Regions from separate parts of the Homo sapiens genome. Here region 1 is linked to region 2. Evidence: promoter capture Hi-C in human tissues and cell types (Jung and others, 2019). All regions are on one chromosome and are shown on one strand. Each heading gives the region's core, a stretch centred on a gene start or on the middle of the fragment in contact. The rest is flanking DNA. Distances are from core to core; before and after follow the strand shown.

Evidence for each region. The method cuts DNA at HindIII sites, captures the fragments that hold promoters and counts their contacts. A contact is called where the count stands out against the background at its distance.
Region 1: a fragment that was not itself captured here is called in contact with the fragment with the promoter of SAMD9L in region 2 in 1 of the 25 tissues and cell types used here (IMR-90 fibroblasts).

Annotation. Positions count from the first base shown.
Region 1 is chr7:92,642,738-92,645,538 of GRCh38, reverse strand. All of the region lies in intron 5 of CDK6 (cyclin dependent kinase 6), which reads left to right. It overlaps LOC112268009 (a long non-coding RNA gene), which reads left to right. Exons shown (of 2, transcript XR_002956577.2): 1 at 1-2,801. Among named protein-coding and RNA genes, the nearest start is that of FAM133B, 54 kb to the right of the region's middle. The HindIII fragment of the contact is 3,085 bases long and covers 6-2,801 here.
Region 2 is chr7:93,146,989-93,149,688 of GRCh38, reverse strand. It overlaps SAMD9L (sterile alpha motif domain containing 9 like), which reads left to right and starts at 1,304. Exons shown (of 5, transcript NM_152703.5): 1 at 1,304-1,495; 2 at 2,543-2,700. RefSeq lists an enhancer at 2,005-2,104. The HindIII fragment of the contact is 15,444 bases long and covers 1-2,700 here.

The DNA of each region.
Region 1 (2,801 bases), core at 299-2,798, 500 kb after region 2:
CAGGAGCACACTTCTGGATTGAACCATGGTTTCTAATGCTGCTTGGAAATCTTATTATCATGTGCACTCAGCAAGATAGAAACTGCATATCAGGTGAAGCTTGGGTCAGACTTTATTTTGCAAGCATTTACTTATCTTTCTTGTACGATGGAAATGCTGGCAACACAATAGCTTAAAAACAAGATAAGCCTCATCTTTTTTCCTGTGTGGGTATGTTAGGGAATGATGGTTTTGATGGCCTTTAAAAAGCAGGAAAGGGCAAAGCCCTGTGATGCCATTTCTTTGGCATTTCATTACTTCATTAAGAGAATTATCCTAAAAGCCTGGGAGCTGTAATACGGCTTAAAAACTGATGAGAGCTGAGTGAAAACACCATAGACTCCAAACCAAATTAACCAGAAGGTTCATCCCAAAGAGACCCGCTTTTATATTCGCACCTGGGGTGTGTACTTTTCCTTCTGCCACTCAAGAGCTTTTGCGTGTGGGGGTGAACAATTTGCTTTCCATGCCAAACCCGATGAAATGGGATTTGTCTTCCCTCTCAGACAGGTGGCCAAGCTGTAACAGAGAGGGCTCTGCCTGGCTGCTTGCCTCTTTGGACATGCAGCACTGTCAGTGCAGCGCCAGGCCCCATATCTGACCCTGTGGCCTCACAATCTGGAGGCCCACATTGGCAGCCTGGGGTGGTGACAGCTTCGGTCAGTTGTTGTGGAGTTCCACTGGCAGACAAAGAAGAGTAGGCGAGTGTGCTGATCCAGGTTCCTTCTGTATGATAGAAGAAACCTCTAAGGTCCTGGTAATGTGTGAACCAGTGGAATACCTGCTCCAATAATTAAAGTATGAGCTTTCCTTCCTCTTTTTCAGGGTGGACCAGGCCTTGGGAAAGGAATTTTGGCCTTCCCAGACTGTACACATTACTTAATGTGTCCTTCTACACTTATTACATGCATCAGGAGCAGATTTCACAAGCCTTCTTCCTATGAGACTAGGTTAGTCACTAGGGTTAATTATTCAGTAGTTAAAGGAAATATTGTGATGGAGGGAAAAATAGATTTCCAGAAGCCAGGGAGTAGAGGGCCTCAGAACATCAAATTGCTCCATGAAGAGAGTACACAGCCATTTTTATTTCAGTCTTTGAACATGAGATAGTAATCGTGATTTGAATTCTCTAAACCTCAAAAATATTCCCTTCTTAGCTGTAAATAGCCACTTGTCCCAACCCCATATATCCATGGGGAGCTTCTGTTCTCCCAGAGAAAATGCAGTTAATTATAGCAAAGAAAGGGACCCTAGGTCTCCCCTTCCTGCCTTAAGAGTAATCTCCAGTATCTCTACTCATGAGATAATAAAATGTATCATTTTCAGAAATTTGAAGAAGGTAGGTCAGGACTCACCAGTGCTGTTTCAAAAGCCTTTTGGTTGTGAGTGCCACATCTGACCACTGCACAGATAGCACTGAGAAAGAAAATTGGACCCAGTTCTCTGCTTTTGCCTTCCATTCTCCCTGTAAGGGTCCACGTGAACAGCAAGTTTGGCCTGGTTTCCTTAGGTCCCTCTGGGCCCATTTCTTTTCTTTCATCATCTTTCCTAAAGCTGATATGACAATTCCATGGGGAAGAAACAAATAGTACACTTGGATGAACTTTGCGAAACACAAAGACCTTTCCTCTTATCCCTGATTCTAAAGGGATTTTTCTGTATTTAATAAGTAAATAAATGAGAACAGTTTTAGACTGAATAGTAAGTGTCCCATTTATATCATATTTGTGATGTTTTGAACAGGGTGAAGGAAACCATTCGTGATAAAGCACATGGATTAAAAATCGTGGTTGACTTGTTTAACAGAACCCAAGTCATAAAGCTCCCTTGAAGAGTACTCAAAAATTCTAGCTACAACCAAAGATGAAAAGAAAGTGAATAGACCTCAGCAGGCCTGCCTCCTCTGTTTCATCCTTTAGGTTAAATGTCACCTCCTTAAAGAGGCTTTTTCTATTATTCTCCACCAGCATATCTTATTTTCTTCATAACACTTACCACTTATTTAATGATTTTCTTTCTCCCTAAACTGTAAGCCTCACAAGGGCAGGGACCACGTCAGTCTTATTTCTGTGTTCCCTACACTCAGCATAGTGATAAGCACATCACAGACTCCAAATGTGCTGAATGAGTGAATGAGCTGCTGAAGCGTGCTATAATGGCAAACCTGTTCCAAGTTCTTCATGGACTTACAGACTCCTCTGGATCACCTCTTTCTTTTCTTAGAACCAACTGAAGAATACTACTTGGTCTCAACATCAGGCTTACCAGTGTTATTCCCATTAGTTCATTTGTATTTTTTAAAACCCGGGATTTGGCCGGGCGTGGTGGCTCAAGCCTGTAATCCCAACACTTTGGGAGGCCAAGGCAAGCAGATCACTTGAGTCCAGGAGTTCGAGACCATCCTGGGCAACATGGCCAAACCCTGTCTCTACAAAAAATTAGTCAGGTGTGGTGGTACATGCCTATAGTCCCAGCTACCTTGGAGGCTGAAGTGGGAGGATCACCTGAGCTCAGGAGGTCAAGGCTGCATTGAGCTGTGATCACACAACTGTATTCCAGCTTTGGTGACAGAGGTAGACCCTGTCTCAAAAAAAAAAAAAAAAATTCTTTTTTCAGCCTGAGTCTCAAGTCCACTAGCAGTTCCGTAGTCATAGCCAAACGATGCGATGTAGTGAAGTGGTCATGAGAGCCAGCTTTGGAGCATCTAGTTGTCTCTATCACTTCTTAGCTCAATGATGATGAGTTATCATTAACCATCCCTC
Region 2 (2,700 bases), core at 55-2,554:
CCTTTTATTAACAGGGGTCTCTAATTCACCCTGTCTTCGGAGAGACTCTAATTCCCCTAAGTTGGGCCTCTAACCCAATCCCATTCTTTACCCGGGTACCCCACCACTTACCCAAAGTCATCCAATCAGTGCTATAGTCCATTTCCTTTGGGTTGGTGGGGAGGTTCTTCAGTATCGGTCCCTCATGGTTGCCAGAAATGTTACAGGACCAGGGTTCCAATCCAGACCCCTAGAGAGGGTTCTTGGAGCTCATGCAAGAAAGAATTCAGGGCGAGTCCACAGTGCAAAGTAAAAGCAAGTTTATTAAGAAAGTACAGTGGTAAAAGGACAGCTACTCCACAGACAGAGTAGGACGTTCCCGAAAGTAAGAGGAGGAACACATCCACCCTAGGTACAATGCTTGTATATATGGAGAGATGTGTTTTGCTACAAGGGTTTCTGATAAAGAATTAATTTTCTTAATTAGTGTATTTTGCAAGAATCAATATTATTTTCTTTAAAGCAAAATTAAGAATGCCTCTGTTCTCCAGATATTGGGATATCTGGACACTCCCAAGTCACGGTCTGCTTAGTAAATATTATTAATTTGCTCCCTTAATCATAAACATCTAGAGGCTAGGAATGCCTACCTTTCTGAGAAGGCAGCCCAGCAAGTCTCAGCCTCATTTTCGTAGCCCTCATTCAAAATGGAGTCACTCTGGTTCGAATGTCTCTGACATTATCAGGGTTGGTTTCTTCTGATGTCTCTCTCCTTGGCTTGTAGATGGCCATCTTTTCTTTGTGTCTTCACATGGTCTTCCCTCTGTATGTGTCTGTGTCCCAATCTCGTCTTCTTACAAGGACACAGTCAGATTCAATTACAGACACTCTAATGACCTCATTTTAACTTAATTATCTCCTGAAAGACCTTATCTCCAAATACAGTTACATTTGGAGGGAGTGAGGATTAGGACTTTAACATATGAATGTTTGGGGGACACAATTCAACCAGTAACAGGAACTTAGATTGCACTGACATATTAATTTTCTCCCTGGTATTTCCATTCTCTTTGTCCTGTAGGTAGTTTTTTGGGTCACTGGGTTTTTTTGTTTGTTTGTTTGTTGTTTCCTTATTCCTTAACTCTTATAACTTAAAAATCTGCCTGGTAAACAGTTTCTAAGCAGTGATTCAAATTTATTGATATTTTTGGTAATGTTATTGATTAAAAAACATTTCAGATCCTTCTAAACTCAAGAAAAAAGAATGTTCTAAAGCAAAACTGAAACTGTCTATACTTCAACTTCCTCCTGCTTCTCAACTGGCACTCTGACACACCCTCAGAAAGTCAGAGTACTGGGAGAACAGAAGACTTCACAATTTAATGCCTCAGTTTTTAAAAAAGGATCCTTACACTTCATGTCTCCTAGCCATCAGAAGAGGAATGAGACAGCAAAAGTTCAAATGGCCTGTTTCAAGTTTCTGATATAAAACGATGACATTTTCAGGAAAATCCTGGTAAGTAAACTGAATCATTAAACCTTTATTTGTTATGCTTTTGAGGCGACAGCTATTTTTTAAAACTTCAGCTGTACTTTTTATATAAATATATGTTTGTACATAAACGATTACTTATAAAAATACTAGAGTAATTAGAAAAATCAATGGATTAAATACATGTCAGTATATTTAACTGATAATAACTTTGTAAGTGCTCTTCTAAAAAGAAACATACCATTAAGTGTAATTAGGATAGTGGGAGGGTTTCTGATTGTGGCAGGCAGGCTTTGGAAAAGAGGATAGAGAAACGATGCAAACAGGGTCAGGAATTTAAGCACTGAAGATTCTAAAGGAACGTGTGATCTTGTGTAATTACACAAAATTCTGTCTTCATAACGTAAGATGTTATTAAAACTTTTACATTTTATCAAAGTTAATACTCTGCAGAGGCTAAATATTATTCTATTAAAGTATTTCATTCACATACATCTTATCCAGCAATCTGGTTGAAAACTAAGAAAAAAAATGCAAAGTGTTCTTCAGGAAAACGAAACTAACTTGCTTGTGTGGCTTCTGTCTGCCAGACTATGCAAGGAGGGTGTGGGTAGCTCTCCTGGGCTACAGCCAGATTCTGAAGTGTGTTTCCCCTACATCAGTTCTAAGAATCCTGCAGAGCAGAACACCTCCCTAGGGCATGGATATCAGCGGTGTTGCTGAGGGTCTCTCAAAGATGGGGTGGGCTTGTCCCTGAGAGTTTGCTGACTTGGAAATTCTTGCTGAGCATCAAAGAGAGAAAACTGAAGTGTTGAGGATGCCAACCTGCAACTCCTTTGTCAATAACCAACGTTGCTAAAGATAATATTTGTCTTCACAATTGTTTCAAAACAGGACACTGAGGGCCCCTAGAAAGCCAAGACTTAAGTCAAGGCAATCACAAAATTTGTCCACACTAATCATGGTCATTTTGATTGTTACTTAGTTCCAACAGCATACATCCAGATGCTCTTAAAATTGTACTGGCTAAAACGAAAGAAAAAATCTGGAGTCTGTTTTTTCCATCTTTAGCATTTCCAGAGAGAGACTGGCTGGTTAAATTTCTGAAAGAGGACACCAGCTAAAAGAAGGTATTGCATCTCACCCGAGCAGACTGTGTCTGTGGAAAGTGTAAGCCCCTTGCCAGAAGAGCAGCTTCCCAGCAAAGGCAGAGGGTGAAAACAGCAAAG